Linked DNA regions of Homo sapiens: regions 1, 2, 3 and 4 are each linked to region 5. The links are contacts of gene promoters, found by promoter capture Hi-C in blood cells and fetal thymus (Javierre and others, 2016). All regions are on one chromosome and are shown on one strand. Each heading gives the region's core, a stretch centred on a gene start or on the middle of the fragment in contact. The rest is flanking DNA. Distances are from core to core; before and after follow the strand shown. Region 1 overlaps STAU2 (staufen double-stranded RNA binding protein 2). Region 2 overlaps STAU2 (staufen double-stranded RNA binding protein 2). Region 3 overlaps LY96 (lymphocyte antigen 96). Region 4 overlaps LY96 (lymphocyte antigen 96). Region 5 holds the start of UBE2W (ubiquitin conjugating enzyme E2 W).

The links. Contacts are between HindIII fragments. The CHiCAGO score rates a contact against its expected background, and 5 or more counts as called.
Region 1: a fragment that was not itself captured here is called in contact with the fragment with the promoter of UBE2W in region 5 in 4 of 17 cell types (megakaryocytes, erythroblasts, M1 macrophages and 1 more); the score reaches 8.2 in megakaryocytes.
Region 2: a contact is called between a fragment that was not itself captured here and the fragment with the promoter of UBE2W in region 5, in 2 of 17 cell types (non-activated CD4 T cells and M2 macrophages). The highest score is 5.9, in non-activated CD4 T cells.
Region 3: a fragment that was not itself captured here is called in contact with the fragment with the promoter of UBE2W in region 5 in 2 of 17 cell types (activated CD4 T cells and neutrophils); the score reaches 7.8 in activated CD4 T cells.
Region 4: a fragment that was not itself captured here is called in contact with the fragment with the promoter of UBE2W in region 5 in 2 of 17 cell types (activated CD4 T cells and neutrophils); the score reaches 11.8 in activated CD4 T cells.

The regions. Positions count from the first base shown.
Region 1 is chr8:73,681,251-73,685,822 of GRCh38, forward strand. All of the region lies in intron 5 of STAU2 (staufen double-stranded RNA binding protein 2), which reads right to left. Among named protein-coding and RNA genes, the nearest start is that of STAU2, 63 kb to the right of the region's middle. RefSeq lists a silencer at 541-741. The HindIII fragment of the contact is 3,262 bases long and covers 117-3,378 here.
Region 2 is chr8:73,660,825-73,665,428 of GRCh38, forward strand. All of the region lies in intron 6 of STAU2 (staufen double-stranded RNA binding protein 2), which reads right to left. Among named protein-coding and RNA genes, the nearest start is that of STAU2, 84 kb to the right of the region's middle. The HindIII fragment of the contact is 9,464 bases long and covers 1-4,604 here.
Region 3 is chr8:74,010,929-74,015,550 of GRCh38, forward strand. The region is part of intron 3 of LY96 (lymphocyte antigen 96); the gene reads left to right. Among named protein-coding and RNA genes, the nearest start is that of LY96, 22 kb to the left of the region's middle. The HindIII fragment of the contact is 4,449 bases long and covers 475-4,622 here.
Region 4 is chr8:74,026,800-74,031,490 of GRCh38, forward strand. It overlaps LY96 (lymphocyte antigen 96), which reads left to right. Exons shown (of 5, transcript NM_015364.5): 4 at 1-42; 5 at 2,157-2,280. The coding sequence ends at 2,255. Among named protein-coding and RNA genes, the nearest start is that of LY96, 38 kb to the left of the region's middle. The HindIII fragment of the contact is 911 bases long and covers 2,378-3,288 here.
Region 5 is chr8:73,876,023-73,880,885 of GRCh38, forward strand. UBE2W (ubiquitin conjugating enzyme E2 W) reads right to left here and starts at 2,840. Exons shown (of 6, transcript NM_018299.6): 1 at 2,786-2,840. The coding sequence starts at 2,800. LINC01617 (long intergenic non-protein coding RNA 1617) reads left to right here and starts at 2,960. Exons shown (of 3, transcript NR_147034.1): 1 at 2,960-4,675. RefSeq lists enhancers at 1,523-1,572, 2,049-2,926 and silencers at 2,313-2,572, 2,593-2,642, 2,783-3,072. The HindIII fragment of the contact is 3,471 bases long and covers 369-3,839 here.

The DNA.
Region 1 (4,572 bases), core at 498-2,997, 200 kb before region 5:
GATAAATAGCAGATTTCTCAGCATAAAATCTACAAGCCAGATGGAATTGAGGTCCTATCTTTAGCCTCCTTAAATAAAATAATTATCAGTCAAGAATTTTATGTCCAGTGAAACTAAGCTTCATTAATGACGGAAAGATAAAAGTCTTTTTCAGGCAAACAAATGCTGAGAGAATTTGCCACTATCAAGTCAGCACTAAAGAAGTAATAAAATGAATTATTAAATCTTGAAACAAAGCCTCAGAATACACCAAAACAGAACCTCCTTAAAGCATAAATCTCACAGGGCCTATAAAACAATAACACAATGAGAAAAAACAGACAAAAGGTATTGGGGCAACAACTAGCACAATGGATAGAATAGTACCTCACATCTTAATACTAATGTTGAATGTAAATGGCCTAAATGCTCCACTTAAAAGATACAGAATGGCAGAATGGATAAGAATTCACCAACCAAGTATCTGCTGTTTTCAAGGGACTCACCTAACACATAAGGACTCACATAAACTGAAGGTAAAGGGGTAGAAAGAGATATTTCATGCAAACAGACACCAAAAGCCAGCAGGAGTAGCTATTCTTACATCAGATAAAACAGACTTTAAAGCAACAACAGTTAAAAATGACAAAGAGGGACATTACATAATGATAAACGGACTAGTCCAACAGGAAAATATCACAATCCTAAATATAAATGCACCTAACACTGGAGTTCCCAATTTATAAAACAATTACTACTAGACCTTAATAAATGAGACAGAGGGCAAAATAATAATAGTGAGGGACTTCAATATTCCACTGACAGCACTAGACAGGTCGTTAAGACAGAAAGTCAACAAAAAAACAATGGACTTAAACTATACCCTACAACAAATGGATTTAACAGATATATACAGAACATTCTACCCAACAACTGCAAAATGCACATTGTATTCATCAACACATGGAACATATTCCAAGACAGACCACATAAGCCACAAAACAAGTCACAGTATATTTAAGAAAATCAAAATTATATCAACTACTCTCTCAGACCACAGTGGCATAAAATTGGACATCAACTGCAAAAGGAACACTCAAAAAGCATGCAAATACATGGAAATTAAATAACCTGCTCCTGAATGATTGTTGGGTCAACAATGAAATCAAAATGGAAATTTAAGAATTTGAACTGAATGATAATAGTGACACAACTTATCAAAACCTCTGGGATACAGAAAAAGTGGTGCTAAGAGCAAAGTTTACAGCACTGAATGCCTGCATGAAAAAGTCTGAAAGAGCACAAATAAGACAATCTAGGGTCACACCTCAAGAACTAGAGAAACAAGAACAAACCAAACCCAGCAGAAGAAAAGAAATAACAAAGATGAGAGCAGAACTAAATGAAATTGAAACAAAAGAAATACAAAAGATAAATAAAACAAAAAGTTGGTTCTTTGAAAAGATAAACAAAATTGATAGAACATTAGCAAGATTAACCAAAAAAAGAAGACAGAAGATCCAAATAAGCTCAATTAGAAACAAACAGGAGATATAACAACTGATACCAGAGAAATACAAAATATCATTCAAGGCTACTATGAACACCTTTACACACACAAACTAGAAAACCTAGAGGAGCTGGATAAATTCCTGGAAATATACAACCCTTCTAGGTTAAACCAGGAAGAAACAGAAACTCTGAACTGACCACAGCAAGACTGAAATGGTAATTTTAAAACTGACAACAACAATAAAAAAAGCCCAGGACCAGACGGATTCACAGCTGAATTCTAACAGACTTTCAAAAAAAGAACTGGTATTAATCCTATTGGCACTATTCCAAAAGACAGAGAAAGAGGGAATCCTCCCTAAATCATTCAATGAAGCCATTATCACCCTAATACCAAAAACAGGGAAGTACATAACAAAAAAAGAAAGCCACAGACCAATATCCCTGATGAACATAGATGCAAAAAATCCTCAACAAAATATAAGCTAACTGAATCCAACAGCGTATCGAAAAGGTAATTCACCATGAACAAGTGGGTTTCATACCAGGGATGCAGGGATAGTTTAACGTCCACAAGTCAATAAATGTGATACACCACAGAAACAGAATTAAAAACAAAAATCACATGACATCTCAACAAAGAAAAAGCATTTTACAAAATCCAGCATCCCTATATGATTAAAACCCTCAGCAAAATCGGCATAGAAGGGACATACCTTAAGGTAATAAAAGCATCTATAACAAACCCATAGCCAACGTTATACTGAACAGGGAACAAGTTGAAAGCATTCCCCCTGAGAACTGGAACAAGACAAAGATGCCCACTTTCACCACTTCTATTCAACACAGTACTGGAAGTCCTAGCCGGAGCAATCGACAAGAGAAAGAAATAAAGGGCATCCAAATCGATAAAGAGGAAGTCAAACTGTTGCTGTTTGCTGATGATATGATCGTATACCTAGAAAACCCTAAAGACTCAACCAAAAAGCTCCTAGATCTGATAAATGAATTCAGTAAAGTTTCAAGATACAAAATAAACGTACACAAGTCAGTAGCTCTGCTATACACCAACAGCGACCAAGCTGAGAATCAAATCAAGAACTCAAACCCTTTCACAATAGCTGCAAAAAAATGAAATACTTAGGAATGTACCTAATGAAGAAGGTGGAAAGAACTCTACGACAAAAACTACAAAACACTGCTGAAAGAAATCATAGAGGATACAAACAAATGGAAGCACATCCCAAACTCTTGGATGGGCAGAATCAATATTGTGGAAATAGCATACTGCCAAAAGCTATCTACAAATTCTATGCAATTCGCATCAAAATACCATCATCATTTTTCACACTACTAGAAAAAACAATGCTAAAATTCATATGGAACCAAAAAAGAGCCCACATAACTAAAGCAAGACTAAGCATAATGAGCAAATCTGGAGGCATCACATTACCTGACTTCATACTACATTATAAGGCTATAGTCTCCAAAACAGCACGATACTGCTATAAAAATAGGCACATAGACCAATGGCACAGAATAGAGAACCCAGAAATAAAGCCCAATACTTAGAGCAAACTGATTTTCATCACAGCACACAAAAAATATAAAGTGGGGAAAGGACATCCTATTCAACAAATGGTGCTGGGATAATTGGCAAGTCACATGGAGAAGAATGAAACTGGATCCTCATCTCTCACTTGATATAAAAATTAACTCAAGATGGATCAAAGACTTAAATCAAGGCCTGAAACCATAAAAATTCTAGAAGATAACATTGGAAAAACTCTTCTAGACATTGGCTTAGGCAAAGGCTTCATGACCAAGAACCCAAAAGCAAATGCAACAAAAACAAAGATAAACAGATGGGACTTAATTAAACTAAAAAGCTTCTGCACAGTTAAATAAATAATCAGCAAAGTAAACACACAACCCATAGAGTAGGAGAAAATCTTCACAAACTATGTATCTGACAAAGGACTAATATCCAGAATCTACAAGGAACTCAAATCAGCAAGAAAAAAATAATGCCATCAAAAAGTCAGCTAAGGACACGAATAGATAATTCTCAAAAGAAAATATACAAATGGCCAACAAACATGAAAAAATGTTCAACATCATGAATTATCAGAGTAATGCAAATCAAAACCACAATGCAATACCAACTGATATGGTTTGGCTGTGTCCCCACCCAAATCTCATCTTGAATTGTAATCCCCATAATCTCCATGTGTCAAGGGAGAGACAAAGTGGAGGTAATTTGAATCATGGGGGCGGTTTCCCCCTTGCTGTTCCCATGATAGTGACTGAGTTCTCACAAGATCTGATAGTTTTGTAAGGGTTTGGCAAGTTCCTCCTTCAGTCTTTTTCTCTCTTGCCACCTTATGAAGAAGATGCCTGCCTCCCATTCACCTTTAACCATGACTGTAAGTTTCCTGAGGCCTCTCAAGCCATATAGAACTGTGAGTCAATTAAACTTCCTCCTTTCCTTCATAAATTACCCAGAATCAGGAAGTTCTTTATAGCAGTGTGAGAACAGACTAACACACCACCTTACTCCTGCAAGAATGGCCATAATTTAAAAATAAAAAAATAAAGGATGTTGGCGTGGATGTGGTGAAAAGAAACACTTTTTTTTTCTTTTTTTTTTTTTTGAGATGGAGCCTCGCTCTGTCACCAGGCTGGAGTGCAGTGGTGCGATCTCAGCTCACTGCAACCTCCGCCTCCCGGGTTCACACCATTCTCCTGCCTCAGCCTCCCAAGTAGCTGGGACTACAGGGGCCCGCCACTGCCCGGCTAATTATTTTTGTATTTTTAGTAGAGACAGGGTTTCACCGTGTTAGCCAGGATGGTCTCGATCTCCTAACCTCGTGATCTGCCCACCTCAGTCTCCCAAAGTGCTGGGATTACAGGCATGAGCCACTGCGCCCAGCCAAAAAGAAACACTTTTACACCACTGGTGGGAATGTCAACTAGTAAAACCACTATGGAAAACAGTATGGAGATTCCTTAAAGAACTAAAAGTAGAACTACCATTTGATCCAGCAATCCCACTACTGGGTATCTACCCAGAGGAAAATA
Region 2 (4,604 bases), core at 1,791-4,290, 210 kb before region 5:
ATCCATATGCAATAGAGAATCAGCCATTCCTCCTATAAAGCATACACCCAGAAATAATAACAGAATCACAGCCTGATTTAATTTTTTTAATTAAGCAGATGTAAATTCTTTTAAATCTCCCACAGTAACAATGTCCAGTACAAATACACTGATATTTAGATTCTTTTAAAGGAACTCAAAACACTACAGTAAAGTAAGGTAAAGGGTCATGCATGGTCACTGAATTACTTTATTAAAACCTGAAAACAACACTGTAAGGAAGCGTTATTTATTCTCCTAACTTACAGGTGAATTAACCGAGAATTAGAAGTCGAATAACCTGCTCAAATCCACATAACTATGATTCCAACTCCAGAGTTTGTACTTGTAACTAAACAAGCTAAAATGCAATAAAGGCTAACAATTATAATAACAATCAGTGCACAAAGGCAGAAGCTAAGCAACTGAACCAGCCTATCATTCTGTCCTCAAACACCCTATAAGGTAAATATTATTTTAACCTCTAGAAAAACATTTACAATGTTTTTGGCCAAATGCTTGAGAAGCAAAAATCTGGCGCTTTCTTATAAATATTTTTAGCCTCAAAGAAAATGGAGGATTACAAAATGTTATTTTTTAAATCAATGTTATTGAGGTAAAATTTACATTTAATGAAATGTGCCTATTTTAGGCTCAGAGTTTGATGAATTTTGACATACACTCATATTAACAATCACCAAAATGAAAATACAGAACATTTCTATCACCCCCAAAACTTTCCTTGTATAGGAAATTCCCAGCCCCAAATCTAGACAATCAAAGAACCTCTTTCTGTCACTACGGATTAGTTTCGCCTATTCTAGAATTCCACAAAAATAGAATCTTACAGTACCTACACTATGTATCTGTCCTGTCTTCTTTTGCTCAGCATATTGTTTCTGAGATTCATGCATATCATTGGATGAATCACAAGTTTTGCTGTTGAATAGTATGCCAAGTCATGGTTACATTACAGTGTAACCATTTACCTAGTGGTAGATATTTGGGTTGTTTCCAATTTGGGGCTATTATAAAGAAAAATGCTACAAACTTTCATGTATAAGTCTTTGAATGGCCATATATTTTCATTTATCTTAGGTAAATACCACATGGAATTGCTGGGTGGTAAGATAAGTACTACATGCTTAACTTCATAAGAACATCATAAACTCTGACAAGGTGCCTGTACCATTTTATATCCCCAGCAGCAATATATGAGACTTCCAGTTGCCCCACCATGACACTAGGTGTTGTCAGTCTTTTTAAACTTTAGCTATGGTTTTAATTTGCATTTCCCTGATGACTAATCACTTTGAGCATCTTTTCATGTGTTTATTAGCCATTCTTATCTCTATTGTCTATTCAAAAATATTGTCCATTTTTGCCTTATTAATGAGTTGTAGGTATTCCTTTATATATTCTGAAGTCCTCTTTCAAATATATGTATTACGAATGTTTCCTTCTAATATATGTCTTGCTTTTTCATTTTGTAAAAAGTGTCTTTCTAGTACCAGAAGTTTAAATTTTGATGACTTATAATTTCTCAATTTTTTCATGATCCATGTTTAAATTTTGATGACATGTAATTTCTCAATTGTTGCATGATCCGTGCTTTTTGTGTTCTAAGAAATCTTTGTCTATTTCCAAAGTAGCAAAGTATTTTCTTCTGGAAATTTTACTTTAACTTTTACATATATGTCTATGACCCATTTCTGATTTATTTTTGTCTGTGGTGTGAAGTCAAGGTTCAGGGGTTTTTGTTGTTGTTGTTGTTGTTGTTGTTGTTGTTTTTGAGACAGAGTTTCACTCCTGTTGCCAGGCTGGAGTGCAATGGCACAATCTCAGCTCACCACAACCTCTGCCTCCCGGGTTCAAGCAATTCTCCTGCCTCAGCCTCCTGAGTAGCTGGGGTTACAGGCATGCGCCACCATGCCAGGCTAATTTTGTATTTTTAGTAGAGACAGGTTTTCTCCATGTTGGTCAGGCTGGTCTCGAACTCCTGACCTCAGGTAATCCACCTGCCTCAGCCTCCCAAAGTGCTGGGATTACAGGCATGAGCCACCGCGCCCAGCCCAGGTTCTTTTTTTTTTCTGTCAGAAAGGCCAATTATTTTACTATTATTTGTTGGAAAGAGTATCCTTTCCCCATTAGCACCTTCACTGGAATTAATTTTGAAAGAATTAAATTGTTCATATATGGATTGATCTATTTCTTGCCTCCATATTCCAGAGATCAGCAAACTTCTGTAAAGGGCCCAATATAAAATATTTTGGGCTTTGCAGGCCATATGATCTATTACATCTATTCGACTCTGCTGTTGTAACACAAAAGCAGACTATAAATAAGCAAGTATATACAACACATAAGCAAGTGACTGTGGCTGTGTTCCAATGACACTTTACTGACACACACTAGAATTTCAATTTCATCTAAATGTCATGTGTTGTAAAATATCATTTTATTTTTGATGTTTTTCCAACCACTTGCAAATGTAAAAAACATTACTTAGCTTGCAAGCCATACAAAAACAGGCAAGCCAGACGTGACCCATGGGCTATAGTTTGCCAACTGCTGTTTTATTCTGTTCCACTGATCCATATATCTGTCCCTATGTTAATTTTCTGCTGTCTTGATTATTGTAGCTTTATAGCAAATCTTGAAGTCAGGTAGTGTGGGCCAGCCAATTTTGTTCTTTTCAAAATTGCTTTGGCTACTGCAAAAACAATTTGCAGTAGCCAAATTGTTTTTTTGCATCTCCAAATGTCAGCACTACTTTATTAATTTTACCAAAAAAAAAAAAACTCTACTATGATTTTTGTTACAACTGCATTGCATCTTCACATCAACTTTGAGAGAACTGAAATCTTAAATAATAGAGTCTTCTTTAATTTGAGCAGTATTTTATAGCCTTCATTATACAGGTTGTGTACCTATTTTATTAAATTTATCTCTGAATATGTTTTCACGCTATTTAATTCCCCAACTGCTCATTACTATTTACTAGAAATACCACTGATTTTTGTATACTAACCTTGCAACTTGTGGCCTTACTAAATTCACTTATTCAGTAGCTTTTCAGTACTTTTGATTTATTATTTTCTACATACAGAATCATGGTGTCTATGAAGATAGTTTTATATCTCCTATTCCAATATTCCCCCATTTGTTTCTTCTTATTGTTGCACTTGATAGAACTCAAGTATAATGTGGGGTTCTTTGTTGTTTTTTTGAGGTGGGGTCTCACTGCGTTGCCTAGGCTGGAATGCAGTGGCGATCACAGCTCACTGAAGCCTTGACTTCCCAGGCCCAGGCAATCCTCCCACCTCAGTCTCCCAAGTAGCTGGGACTAGAGGCACACGCCAACAGAGATGGGGTTTGGTCATGTTTCCCAGGCTGGCCTCAAACTCCTAAGCTCAAGCAATCTGCCCACCTCGACCTCCCAAAGTGCTGGGATTACAGGCATGAGCCACCGTACCAGTCCTTAAGTATAATGTTGAACAGAAGTGATAACAGTGTGTATTACTGCCTTGTTCCTGATCTTACAAGTATTCAGTCTTTCACTATAAAGCATAATGTTATCTGGAGGTTGTTTGAAGAAGCCCTTTATCAGATTAAGAAAGTTCTCTTCCATTCCTAGTTTGCTGAGTCTATATCATTAGTGAGCGCTGACTTCTGTCAAATGTTTTTTCTGCACCTAATGAGATACTGATATGGTTGTTCTCCTTTATTCTATTAATTGGGTTAATTACTTTGATTACTGAATACTAAATTCATCTTGCTTTCCTAGAATAAACTTCATTTAATCATAATGTTATTTAAATTCGGCTGAATTTAATTTGCTGATATTTTGTTAAGAATTTTTATCTGGCTGGGCATGGTGGCTCATGCCTGTAATCCCAGCACTTTGGGAGGACGAGGTGGGCAGATCACTTGAGGTCTGCAGATCAAGACCAGCCTGGGCAACATGTTGAAACCCTGTCTCTACCAAAAATGCAAAAAATTAGCCAGGTGTGGTGGCATGCGCCTGTAGTCCCAGGTACTCGGGAAATTGAGGCATGAGAATCGCTCGAACCTGGGAAGCAAAAGTTGCAGTGAGCCAAGATCAGGCCACTATACTCCAGCCTGGGCAACAGAGCAAGACTGTCTCAAAAAATAATAATAATAATTTTTATATCTGTGACCATGGGGGATACTGATCTTAAGTTCACTCTTCCTCATCCTTGCTTTGGTAACTTGTTCAAATTTTCTTCTCTGGTTTATGAGAGTTTTAAAAAGACATTTCTAATGCGTCTTTGTTATGGGTTTAGGTTAATTTCTCCCAAATAAAAAAAAATCCTAATTTAACATTAATGTTAATAATTTAACATTATTTTTAACAAAATATTTAAAAAGTTACCTTGCTGCCTATCTTTCAGTTCTACATCTATTCTATAAAGTGATATCTACATGAAGTAGAATCAGTTTAAGAGTTCTGACACACATTCCATGTGTAAAGCATATGAGAAAAGAGAAAAGAATATATTCCCCAAACCAAGGGATGTAGTATACAAAAGGCAAAGTTCTATATCTATTGAAACAAATTGGGC
Region 3 (4,622 bases), core at 1,449-3,948, 130 kb after region 5:
TTTCTTTTACACAATCTCTGTGGAATTACATTGATATTTTACCTGAATCTTCAAAGTTTCTCTTTCTTGAGACCTCAGAGGTGTCAGACTCAAATCAGCTTGTCTACTTCTTCTCTCCCTCCTCCCACTTTCTTCCATAAACATCTATTGAACCTAATTTGAGCAAATCGTGATTTACGTTCTGGTTATCTGAAGTTGAATGGTAGGATCTCCTTCCTCAGAAAGTTACTCTGGGGAAAACTGGATTGCCATATGCAGAAGAATAAAACTGGACCCCTAGCTCTCACCACATACAAAAATCAACTCAAGATGGATGAACAACTTAAGCATAAGATCTGCAATTACAAACATACTAGAAGAAACCTAGGAAAGATTCTTCTGGACATTGGTCTAGGCAAAGAATTTATGACAAAGATCTCAAAAGCACAGGCAATAAAGACAAAAGTAGACAAATGGGATTTAATTACATCAAAAAGCTTCTGCATAGCAAAAGAAATAATCAACGGAGTGAACAGACAACCTGTAGTATATGAGAAAAAATTCGCAAACTATTCATCCAACAGGGGACTAATATTCAGAATGTACAAAGAACTCAAGCAACTCAACAGCAACAACAAAAACAAATAACCCCATTAAAAAGTGGGAAGAGTGGCTAGGCGCAGTGGCTCACGCCTGTAATCCCAGCACTTTGGGATACCAAGGCAGGTGGATCATGAGGTCAGGAGTTCGAGACCAGCCTGGCCAACATAGTGAAACCCCATCTCTACTAAAACTACAAAAATTAGCCAGGTGTGGTGGCATGCGCCTGTAGTCCCAGCTACTTGAGAGGCTGAGGCAGGAGAATCGCTTGAACCCAGGAGGTGGAGGTTGCAGTGAGGCGAGACCATGCCATTGCACTCCAGCCCAGGTGACAGAGTGAGACTCCATCTCAAAAAAAAAAAAAAAAAAAGTGGGAAAAGGACATGAATAGACACTTATAGATACTTTTCAAAAGAACAGATAGAAATGGTCAATAGGTATATTACTAATCATCAGAGAAAAGCAAATTAAAGTTGCAATGAGATATCATCTTACCCCAGCCAGAATGGCTATTCTTAAAAAGACAAAAAGTAACAGATGTTAGCAAGAATATGGAGAAAAAAGAACTCATCCATTTTTGGTGGGAATGTAAATTAGTATAGTCTATGGAAAGCAATATGGAGATTTATCAAAGAACTAAAAATAGAACCACCATTCCATCTAGCAATTTCACTACTAGGTATCTACTCAAAGGAAAAGAAATCAATATATCAAAAAGATACCTGCACTCATATGTTTATTGCACTAGTCACAATAGCAAAGATATGGAATTTACCTAAGTGTCCATCAACAGACAAATGGGTAAATAAAATGTGGTATATTTACACAATGGAATACTATTAAGCCATTAAAAAAATGAAATCATGTATTTTTCAGCAACATGGATGGAACTAGAGGCCATTATCTTAACTGAAACAAACCAGGCACAGAAAGTCAAATATTGCATGTTCCCACTCATAAGTGGGTGCTAAAAAATGTGTACACATGTACTACAGAGTGGAATGATAGTGAAGAGTTGGAAGGGTGAGGGGGTGGATGATGTAAAATTAGTTAATGGGTATATGTTACTTGGGTGATGGGCACCCTAAAAGCCCTGACTTGACCACTACACAACCTATGCAGGTAATGAGATTGCACATGTACCTGGTAAATCAGTATAAATAAATAAATAAAAAAGTCACTCCATTCTGGGAAAGACAGTTATAAGAACAAAATTTATAATAAAATTATGTGTAATTTTATTGTAAATTGATTATAGGTATGAGCCATTGCCATACAATAAAATTATATTTACATATAATTTTTTTGTAAAATTATTGTAAATTTTTTGTAAATTTATTGTAAAAAGGTGTATGTAAATAACATATAGTTCTATTAGCAATAGAACTATATGTTATTGGTTTTAACTATATAATTACTAAATAACTGTGGCAGAAAAACTGGGATAAGTTTTTTTTTTGAGACAAGATCTTATCTTGTGGCTCTGTCACCCAGATTAGAGTGCAGTGGTGCAACCATAGCTCACTGCAGCCTCAAACTCCTGGGCTGAAGTCATCATCTAGTCACAGCCTCCTGAGTAGCAAGGACTACAGGCACAGATCACCATGTCCAGCTAATTTTTTTTTCTTTTTTTTTGGAGTCAGAATCTCACTCTGTCACCCAGGTTGGAGTGCAATGGCACAATCTCAGCTCACTGCAACCTCCACTTCCCGGGTTCAAGTGATTCTGCCTCAGCCTCCCGAGTAGCTGGGACTACAGGCGTGTGTCACCATGCCCGGCTAATTTTTGTATTTTTAGTAGAGACAGGTTTTCATCATGTTAGCCAGGCTGGTCTCAAACTCCTGACCTCAGGCCATCTGCCTGCCTCGGCCTCCCAAAGTGCCTCCCAAAGTGCTGAGATTACAGGTGTGAGCCACCGCACCTGGCCCTAATTTTAAATTTAATTTTATTTTAATTAAAAAATAGAGATAAGGTCTCACCATCTTGCCCAGGCTGGTGTTGAACTCCTGGGCTCAAGTGATCCTCCTGCCTCAGCTTCCCAGAGTGCTGGGATTACAGGTGTGAGCCATTGCTCCTGGACATTTTTAAATTTTTTGTAGAGACAGGGTCTCACTATGTTGCCCAGGCTGGTCAGACAAGCCTTCAATAGAGTATTTTATTAGGGTCTTGAATCTGAGAACATCAGAGGGTGAGGGGGAAAAACATTCCCTGGAGAGGAAACAGCATGTACAAACACATCTAGTCATGAAAGAGTATGGTTTATTTGGAGAGTAGTTTTTTTGTAGTTGGAGCAGAATGTGCTTGTGGGGAATTGCTGGAGATGAGCCTAGAAAAGGGGGCAGTGTGAGCATGTAACTCATGCGCAAAATATTGGCCGGTATCCTATAGTCAGTGGGCAGGGATGACCCACTGAGATTTCCATTTTTACAGATAACTAGCATCCATATGGCAGGAGGTGGGGGTAGGCTGAGGCAGGAAACTTGGGTGGAAGGAAGAGCATCCAGGAGGCTCTGTGAGAGACCATGAGGGCTGAACGAGACGGCGGCCAGGGAGTAGCAGGGAGGAGATGAAAGAGAGATTTTTGGGAGACAGAATAGGCAGGATACACTGATTTAATGTGGCAGGCAAGGATTAGGTAAAATCAAGACCCTCTTGGGCTGGGTGCCTGTAATCCTAGCACTTTGGGAGGCTGAGGCTAGGAGTTTGGGGCCAGCCTGGGCAAGGAGGTGAAACACCATCTCTGAAAAAAAAAAAAAATTAGCTGGGTGTGGTGGTACCAGCCTTTAGTCCAGCTACTTGGGACTGAGGTGGGAGGATCACTTGCACCCAGGAGGTCTTGGCTAGCTGTGATCCACCGCTGCACTCCCTGACTTAAAAAAAAAAAAAGAAAAAAAAAAAAGCACCACACTTGAGGGCCAGTGACTGGATGTATGGAAGTGCCATTATCTGAGATGATGTGTACAAAAGAACAGGCAGGTTTTTTTTTTTTTTTTTTTAAAGGGAAACATAATGAGTTCTGGCTTGGGCATGTTAAGCTCAAGGTAATTTTGGAATATTCAAATAAACATGGCCATCTGGCAGCTGAGTATGTGGGCCCAGAACTTAGGACTTTCTGATTTAAGAAGCATTGACGTATCAAGAGACCCTTGAAATTTGGGAGTCGAATTTGCAAGTACCATACATATCTATGTTTAAAATAATTTTCCTTTTGGTTGTTATAAAAGTTATACATCTTTATGATATGATATTTAGAAAATATGGACAAGCAATTATAAAGTAAAAGTTACCCATAATCTCACCAGTTTACACACACACACACACACACACACACACACACACATATATCTGTTTCTCTCAAAAACACATTTATGAATCAATGGATGGATATTTCAAAGCATCTTAAATTTAATAAGCCTGGGCTGGGCACGGTAGCTCATGCCTGCAATCCCAGCACTTTGTGAGGCCAAGGGAGGTGGGCTGCTTGACATCAGGAGTTTGAGAACAGCCTGGGCAACATGGTAAAATGCCGTCTCTACCAAAAATACAAAAATTAGCTGGGTCTGGTTGTGCATGCCTGTGGTCCCAGATACTTGAGAGGCTGAGGCGGGAGGATCACTGGAGCTTGGGCAGTGGAGGCTGCAGTGAGCCGTGATTGCACCACTGCACTCCAGCCTGGGCAACAGAGCAAGATCCTGTTTAAAAAAAAATTCATAAGCCTGTAAGTTCTGTTACCGGGATTTTGCTGGGGCTGCTGTTACTAAGTACCATAAACTGAATACCTTAGAAAAACAGAAATTTATCATGTAACAGCTCTGGAGTCCAGAAGTCTGAAACCAAGATAACGAGGCCATGCTCCCTCTGTAGGAGCTAGGCATGGATCTGTTCCAGGCCTCTCTCCTAGCTTCTGGTGGCCTAAGGCATGTCTTGCCTTGTAGATGGTCATCTTCTTCCTGGGTCCTTTCACTGTGGTCTTCCCTCCTATGTTTGTCTATCTCAGTGTCCAAATTTCCCCTTCTTAATAAGGACACTTGCATATTGGACTA
Region 4 (4,691 bases), core at 1,583-4,082, 150 kb after region 5:
ACAACAATATCATTCTCCTTCAAGGGAATAAAATTTTCTAAGGTATTGTTCAAGATTTATTTTGTACTGTCTAACCTTTAGCAGTAATAGACATGTTAAGCATTTGAAACAAGCAATTCACAACTTCTTCCTTTTTCTTTCTTTTTTTTTTTTAAATGGGATCTCAGTCTGTTACCCAGGCTGGAGTGCAGTGGCACGATCTCTGCTCACTGCAACCTCCACCCGCCAACCCCCACCCCAAGCAATCCTCCTGCCTTAGCCTCCTGACTAGCTGGGACTACATGTCCATGCCACAATGCCAGCTAATGTTTTGTACTTTTGGAAGAGACGCGGTTTCACCATGTTGCCCAGGTTGGTCTTGAATTCCTGAGCTCAAGCGATCCACTCCGCTTAGCCTCCCAAAGTGCTGGGATTACAAGTATGGGCAGTTGTGCCCAGCTGACAATTTCATGAATAGCAGTTCGAGATTAAGATGTTCAGGGTTTTTTCTTTCACTTTTATTTAGAATTAGCTTTTTTTTTTTTTTTTTAACTGAGTCTTGCTCTGTTGCCCAGGCTGGAGTGAAGTGTGTTCTGGACTCACTGCAACTTCCGCCTCCCAGGTTCAGGTGATTCTGTGCCTCAACCACCCGAGTAGCTGGGATTACAGGCACATGCCACTATGCCCAGCTAATTTTTTTATTTTTAGTAGAGATGGGGTTTCACCATGTTGCCCAGGCTGGTCTCAAACTCCTGGCCTCATGTGATCCACCCACCTTTGTTCCTGGACCAAACTGAGGGTCGGGCTGCCATTTCTCGCAGCCCAATAGCAAGATGCAGATGAACTGGGGAGGAAGAGAGCTTTTATTTCTGTAACTGGTTACAGGGAGAAGGTCTGGAAATTATCGCCAGACCAACTCAAAATTACAAAGTTTTCAGAGCTTATATACATTCTAAGGTATATGTCTATGTGTAAGTGTGCATTCATCTGAAGACACAAGTGATTAACTTCTTTTAATCTATAATTAAGGTCTGAGTCCTGAAGACCTTCATCTGGAGCCTCAGGAACTTTACTTAATCTAAATGGGTCTGGGTGCTGGGGTGATTACCTTTATCTTGTCTCCTGCTAAATCATGGAGGTTTGAGGAGTTCCTTCAGACCCCCAGTAAACTTGGTTGTGGAAGCCTGGGGAGTTTCTTCGGACCCACAATAAAACTCGATTGATCCTAAATGGGTCCTATTAAGAATTTCTTAGTTATTTTGTTATGGTTTAAGAAAGCCTTAAAGGAAGGGCCTGGGCAAAACTCCTGATGGGCTTTTGTTACATCCCATCCTTTGCATAAGGGCGCTGGCTTTAAATATTTAACTTAACCACTCAGTACTGAAACAGTTGTTAGTGAGACCTGGCCTTGGCCTCCCAAACTGCTGGGATTATAGGTGTGAGCCACCACACCCAGCCTTAGTATTAGGTCTTTTGGTATTTTTTCTTTCTGTAGACTATGGAAAAATTGCACAAAACATAGCATTTTTTTCCGCTTCATTTTTTTTTCCCTCTAACATACATGGGCAAAAGTAATTTGAATGCAAGTGCTCATTACTAATCTGTTGAACAGTCTTCAGATGAAAGCACTGGATGACCATTGTGTATAAGCCAGTAAATCTCTATAACTATTCATGTAAATATAATGTGAACATTGTTTAGGAGAATAAAAATCACATAAATTACAGACTTTTTTTGTTCAAGATTTTTTTGGGAACTTAGTCTGGTCATCCATGCCTTTGTAAAAATAATTGCTGCCTCAATGAATAATACCATTGTGATTCTAGATATTTGCGTGACATATCTAGTAATGAGATTTTATGCATTTTACTTATGGTGACCATTTTAAAATAAAATTTAATAATGCATATTCTTTCATTATTTTGTTATAAACTAATATCTAATATTTCAAAACCTCTTAGGTTAGTTTTTAAAAATAACATAATCTTATAATTGGGAAATAAATGGGCTTTATGCTCATTTAATTCAAAGACATGGAAAATTTCGTCTCATTGGAAAACTATAAAATCAATCCAATTTAAATGGCTTTCTGCTAGTAAGAGAAAGTTCTTACAAAGCCTCTGAAATAGTAGCATCTAACATTTTGTATTACTTGTATTTCTTATACTTCATTTTAGGGAAAATACAAATGTGTTGTTGAAGCTATTTCTGGGAGCCCAGAAGAAATGCTCTTTTGCTTGGAGTTTGTCATCCTACACCAACCTAATTCAAATTAGAATAAATTGAGTATTTAAAAAAAAATTTAAAGGTATTGTTCCTGTTTTAAGGGTACCCAGGATTTGTTTTAATCAGATATGGTAGGATAGGAAGACACAGAAATGACTGTCATGAAGAAAGAAGCTTATCCTCACAGATCTCTAGGAAACGGAGGCATGGTGCATCATGCAGAGCCACCTGGGGAAGCACCAGTGTCTGTGAGAATGTGGAGGGAGGGGAAGAATGTGGGCAAGAGTGTTTGTTATGTTTTCCACAGGAAGCAATGGGCAAGGTAGGGTAAGTAATTGATATGGTTTGGCTGTGTCCCCATTCAAATCTCATCTTGAATTGTAGTTCCCATAATCCCCACATGTCATGGGGGACCCAGTGGGAGGTAATTGAATCATGGGGATGGTTACCTCCATGCTGTTCTCATGATAGTGAATGAGTTCTCATGAGATCTGATGGTTTTATAAGGAGCTTTCCCCACCCACCCCTTTTGCTCTGCACTTCACCTTCCTGCCACCATACGAAGAAGGACGCGTTTGCTTCCCCTTCTGCCATGATTGTTTCCTGAGGCCTCCCCAGCCCTGCAGAGCCGTGAGTCAGTTAAACCTCTTTCCTTTATTTTATTTATTGTTTTGAGATGGAGTCTCACTCTGTCACCCAGGCTGGAGTGCAGTGGCACCATCTCGGCTCACTGCAACCTCTGCCTTCCAGGTTCAAGTGATTCTCCTGCGTCAGCCTCCCAAGTAGCTGGGATTACAGGCACCTGCCATCACACCTGGCTAATTTTTGTATTTTTAGTGGAGATGGGGTTTCACCATATTGGTCAGGCTGGTCTTGAACTCCTGACCTCAGGTGATCGGACTCCCAAAGTGCTGGGATTACAGGCATGAGCCACTGCGCCCAACCTAAACCTCTTTCCTTTAGAAATTACCCAGTCTTGGGTATTTCTTCATAGTAGCGTGAGAATGGACTAATACAGCAGTGTTGACCTAAAAGGAAGAAGCTGAGACAGAATTAGTGTAAGTAGAGAGTTTATTTGGGCCAAGCTTGAGGACTGCATCCTGGGAGCATGGCAACTTGAGTTGCCCTGAATATATACTCCATAAATTAGCAGCAGTTACAAGAGGGTTTTTAAAGGGAAAGAAGAGGGAGTTTCTGAGTTGTTTACCAAGAATTTACATTAAAAAGGCTGGGTGCAGTGGCTCACACCTGTAATCCCATCAATTTGGGAGGCTGAGGCGGGCAGATCACCTGAGGTCAGGAGTTTGAGACCAGCCTGGCCAACATGGTGAAATCCTGTCTCTTCTAAAAATACAGAAATTAGCTGGGCCTGGTGGCATGCGCCTGTAATCCCAGCTACTTGGAAGGCTGAGGCAGGAGAATCGCTTGAACCCGGGAGGTGAAGGTTGTAGTGAGCCAAGATTGTGCCACTGCACTCCAGCCTGGCGACAGAAGTGTTTTTGGTGAAGTTTATAGAAACAAAAGGATGGGGTCTTTTCTGCTTGGAGACCCCTCTCTCTATATAGAGAAAGCTGTTTCTCTTTCTCTTCTCTTCTGCCTATTAAACCTCCACTCCTAAACTCCTCGTGTGTGTTTGTGTCCTAAGTTTTCCTGGTGAAAGATGACAAACCCTGGGTTTATACTCCAGACAACGTAGCAGCTTCATATTGGAGGTTCATCTGGGATACCAAAGTACAACATTCATTGAAACGGTGAGCAGAGGAGCAGACTCCAACTCTGTCCTTACATTTCAAGGCTGTCAGCCTCCATTTAAGAACCAAATCAAACCAACTACTGGGCCACCTTCAGCCATTTAAAAATGATTAGCATGGCTGCCAGCCTTATAAGACTTGGAGGACAGGCTTTCTGGAGAGAACATGGAGAATCCCCGAGTACCCATGGGTTGTTGGGCATATTGGCCCTGTTTGAACCAGCTTACTTTCAGAGAGGACTTAGCTGTTGCATGGGGCTGGAAGAGGTTTTGGAGCAACTGAGGATTTCTGGCTGGGGCTACCCCCGTGTTATCCAAAGGCTTCTGGACTGACCCCAGCTTCCGACCACCTGATAGGGTGTCAGTAATAGGATTGCCACCTTTCCTATTGTAATTTCCTCCTTTCCTGTCCATGACCACCATATCTCTCATCCTCTCTGTATGAAATCCGGAGTATATGCCGCCTGCTGGTCTTTTCCACTTGGAGACTATTTCTCTTTCTTTTCTCTTCTGCCTATTAAAACTCTGCTCCAAAATAACAAAAAACAAAAAGACACAAGGATGTGTTTTTTGCTAAAGAAAATGTAATTTTGCTGGGTGTGGTGGCTCACGCCTGTAATCCCAGCACTTTGGGAATCCAAAGCGGGCGCATCACAAGGTTAGGAGTTCGAGACCAGCCTGGCCAGTATGGTGAAACCCTGTCTCTACTGAAAATACAAAAATTAGCCGGGTGTGG
Region 5 (4,863 bases), core at 1,590-4,089:
GCCTGAGCAACACAGCGAGACTCCATCTCAACACAAAAAACAAGAACAAAACACAATTAACTTAAATATGCTGTTCTTATCTGTCTCTTCTTATGAGACTATTTATTATTAAATCCATGAGGGCAGAAATCTTGTCTGCTTTTGTTCATTGCTATAACCACAGCAACTAGATAAGTGTCTGACACATAGAGGTCCCCCAAAAGATAACTGGCTCAGTGAATAAACAAAGTTGATAATTTTATTGAAGATTTATGTATAATCTAGTTGTCTTAAAAGAGCCAAATGTTGCCATTAAGATAGTCAGGATATAAATTCTGTATAACAAAGATACAGAATAACCACACAGAAAGTAGGGTTGTCTTTCAAAAAGCTTGACATATATATTAAAATATTCTTAAAGATACTACCAGCAAATCTGCACTAGATATTTTAAAATACAAATAAAAAGGGAAAGACTTTTCAATAAATATAGGAAGCATCCGTTTTCCATTCCTCTAACCAGAAAACACAGAAGAATAGAGAGTGATAAGATTTCGATGGAACAAGGTGAAGGAAAAACTTAAAAGGGTGGTAAGAGTCTGAGATAGTAATACTTAGGGCACAGAAAAATGCACTATTGCACTGTCAATCAAGTATTTGTTTCCAATTCTTAAGACATCATGTAGGCCAGGCACGGTGGCTCACACCTGTAATCCCAGCACTTTGGGAGGCCAAGGCAGGCGGATCACCTGAGTTCGGGAGTTCAAGACCAGCCTGACCAACATGAAGAAACCCCGTCTCTACTGAAATACAAAATTAGCTGGGCGTGGTGGTTCATGCCTGTAATCCCAGCTACTCAGGAGGCTGAGGTGGGAGAATCGCTTGAACTCGGGAGGTGGAGGCTGCGGTGAGCCAAGATCGCCCCATTGCACTCCAGCCTGGGCAACAAGAGCGAAACTCCATCTCAAAAAAGAAAAAAGACACCATGTAAAGTTCAAGTTCAAGATTACCAACCTCTCTCTTACAAACAAATCTGCCTTTTCCAGATACTAAATCTAACGAGATGACACACTACGTTCTCTTGTCAAATACAAGTGTTGTGGATTTTAATCTTAATGTTTAGCCTCAAATAATGTTTTAATCTTAATACAGATAATAATCTTAAACTTGTCATAAAAAATGTTTTAATCTTAACACAGATAAAAATCTTTAAGTGGTAATGTAGCCTATTGCATCTACTGTTCAACTAGCATTCCACTGTTCCTTTTTTGGCCTCAAATGACGAAACTTCTCCAACGTCTCTGGGGAGACTAGTGTAAAGTATAATGTTTCCTGAAATTGTTCCTGTTTTTTCCCTGCACCATTCGTGATATCTCTTCAACTAGAAATGTTACATAAAACTTTTCTGTTCTGCAGGCAAGTCCAGAGGGAGAAGCAAGGTAAAGAGAATATTGTAAGGAAAACAGGTTGAAAGGGGAATAACATAAAAGCACAGGAGTAAATGTGAAGCAAAGCTATATTTGTACAAAAGAGGAAGAAGATGCAGAAAAGGGAAGAAAAACACTTTTAGCAGAGTAAAGAAAAAAAAATGGAGGAGGAACAGAGACTTGCTTCTTCCAGAAACAAAAGCAAAAAACACTTCTAAGAAAATGTGGTCTCTTTACCCAAGGGGATATTATGAAAACGCTAAAGGGTACTCAGCTGACACTCCTATTGAGCGTTCTACTTTCTCTTCCAATGCCTTTGATACCGCTAGTCTTCACCTGTGAATTAAATGCAGGCTACAGATAACGCACTCAATCCCTGCACAACTACAATTGTGGTTGCCATCTTTGCCTGGAAACAAAAAACAAAAAAACCCACAACTCCCTAGATTCGGGAAAAAGGAGTAAATTAAGTTGGAAAGCCAGAAAACCACGCCTTGCTAAGTCGGGGGGATATGGCACAGGTTAACAAACGCCTCCTACCAAACTAAGGTTCCACTAAAGGTCTGGGAATAAGGGCAAAGAGATGTATAGCCTTATCGCGACCGCAAGGGTGGGGCCTTGCAGTGGGAAACAAAATAGAAGGCAAGCTATCCCGAGAGGTTTAAGGGGGCTGAGGACTCGGCTCTCGGGAGATCGCCCATCAGGCGGTGGACACGGGGCAGCTTCGAGAGGAAGGAGACAGTGGACTGCTGGAGGAATGTCCGCGAGAATACCGAGGCTGATGGAAATAGAAGATACCCACGGGCACAGGATTAAGAGTCAAAGGGAAGAAGAGAGGGACGGGGCCGAGCAGTCTGGGGGGCCCGGCGTGGGAGGCCGGAGCAGAGGCCGCTAAGCGCCGTCCGCAGCCAGCCGCCTTCTCCGGAGACGCATTCTCGGCTCCCGCACACTCAGCCCCCCGCCGCCCCTGCCCCGGCAACAACCGCGGGCGCAGCTGTTTCCGTCGGGCCAGGGACAGCGGGGGTAAAGGCAACCCTGGGGCTGGCGGGCAGCAGACTGGCAGCGCCCGTGTGTGTGTGCGGGGAGCCGATTCTGAGACCGCCAACGCCAGACTTTGCCCTTTCTTCCCCAACCCTCCTTTATCACCCAACTTCCCGGCCGGCTGGTGTCCGCTTCGACCGACGGATACCGCACCCCCCACAACGCCTCTCGCCGCCTCTTACCCCTCCCCCGACGCCCTGAGCTGAGGGAAAACAGGCCACCCGGACCGATCCCGAACCCGCCCGGGTGTCCCCGAATCGCGGACGCCACCCCCGCCCGAACGCTGGCACTCTCTCGGCGGCTCCCTGGCCCGCCCAGATGCAGCAAACTCCTCTCACCTGCATTGACGCCATGATGGAACCATCCCCCCAAGACCGGCGAGGCCAGAGACGCAGGGGGAGGAGCTGCCGTGCTCGCGTCACGCCGCGGGGGCTCAACATCCCGGGCGCGGGGGCGGGGTCTGCGATGGGAAGGGGATGGAGCGAGGGGATTGGCTGGCGCGCAGGGCGGACGGGAGGAGGGGCTACGGGGCGGGGCGAGGGCGCGGTAAATGGCGCTCTGAGTACTTTCTGTCTCAGTCCGGCTGGCCGCTCACGCGTCGGGCCCCCATTTACTCTCGTTACTGAGGAGACACGGCTCCAGTTTTGACCCGACTACGGTTGTTTTCTTCGTGTGTACCGCGAAATGCTGATGACGTCCGGTTCCGCGCAGTTTTTTTCCTATTTCGTTTCCAACCACAGTTGTGCGGTTCACAGATTTTTCCCTTGGGATGTGTTTTCCATACCTCCAAGCCCACTCTCAGAGCCTTGGGGCCCCATAAAACTTCATGCGCAGCTGCTTTCTGGTATTTGCAGACCTGGAAGGCTTCTCGTATTCTTAATTTGGGGAAGAGAGACATAGGTTTCCTTGTACAACGGGATGAGGATTTAAGAGCAGAACGACACTGATATTTTAAAGGCGAGGGTATTTAGATTTGTGGAGCTGAAACTTGCCTGAAAAGGGAGACAAAATTTGGAAGTTTGTTGTGTGCAGTTTCTGCCCCTTACCCCCGCCCTTCACTTTTAAACTGCGCATATATCAACAATAGTTACGGTTGTTGCAGCAGTCTAAATTTGATTATCAGAATTGACCCTAGGCATGAATTTTTTTTTAAATATACCAATGTCGTGTTATATACACTTATACCATTATGTCCAGACTTCTCTTAAGCATAGTTCGTGGTGGGCAGTTTTGTGGTCATTTAGGGATGAACTTGGGTAGGGAAAGCTGAGCATACATAATTTATTTTAGGAATGCACCAGTTCTGCCAACATTTATCAGAAGTCACGTTTTTAAAAAGCTATTCTGGAACTGAAGATGTCATTGGTTTATAAGAGGAAAATGGAAGCCAAAAGCTTACACCTCATGCTCTATCTTTAAAAATTAAGGTGGCAGACACAATGAGTAGAAGGCTTTTATGTTACCAGAATGAAGGCTTAAAATCTGTCATTTTATTGACTCGGCTTTCTTTTTAGAAATTTCTTTAAGATATAAAAGCAATGTGGAATATCACTCTTTCACACTCTTAAAATAGATTACGTTCTCTGGAACTTCTCTAATCTGAAATGTGTTCAAAAAGGAAAAAGATCTTTAAAATACGCCAGTTAGTCTATGGTATAATATTAAACACTATTCATCACTAGAGAAGTTATGGTGGTATACCCTCCCCTTTCTCAGATGTCCACCTTAATGCCAGAAATGAGCGGAGTTTCCCTTTGTTGTGCAAAATGACTGTGTCCTTGAGGGATGTTTGGATGCTCTTGGTAAACCGGAATCAGCCAGAAGCATATCCGGTGTTAGCCTTGTTGTGTCATCAACATTACAACAGTGAGGAAACCCACATATTCCAATGAAAGAGGAAAACTTAAAGAAGAAGTTTCCAGTGTATTTTCTTTGAGATATATTTATTCCTATGACCTCAGAAGATCAGCTTTTACCGTCCAAGGTTCACTTTGCCTAAAAGCTGATTGTTCCTGTGGAAACAGTAGCATCGGATGACCCTACAAACAAAGCATTATGACATCATCAGAGCCAACAACCTGGCATGACAGATACTAATAAGGAAAAAAGAGGTTACAAGAATTCTGACACTCATCACAGTGGATCCAATATCTGGTCCCTTGGGTTTCATATATGTTAGAAGTATCTTCTCAGGAGGGAAAAGTCAATGCCAGTCATATCCTTTCTAGGTAATACTAAATAGCACATAATAACCTGTCTTCTTTTTTTTTTCTTTTTCTTTGAGACGGAGTCTCAGTCTCACCCAGGCTGGAGTGCAATGGCGCGATCTTGGCTCACTGCAACTTCTGCCTCCCAGGTTCAAGTGATTCGAGTAGGTGGGATTACAGGCGCACACCGCCACGCTCTGCTAATTTTT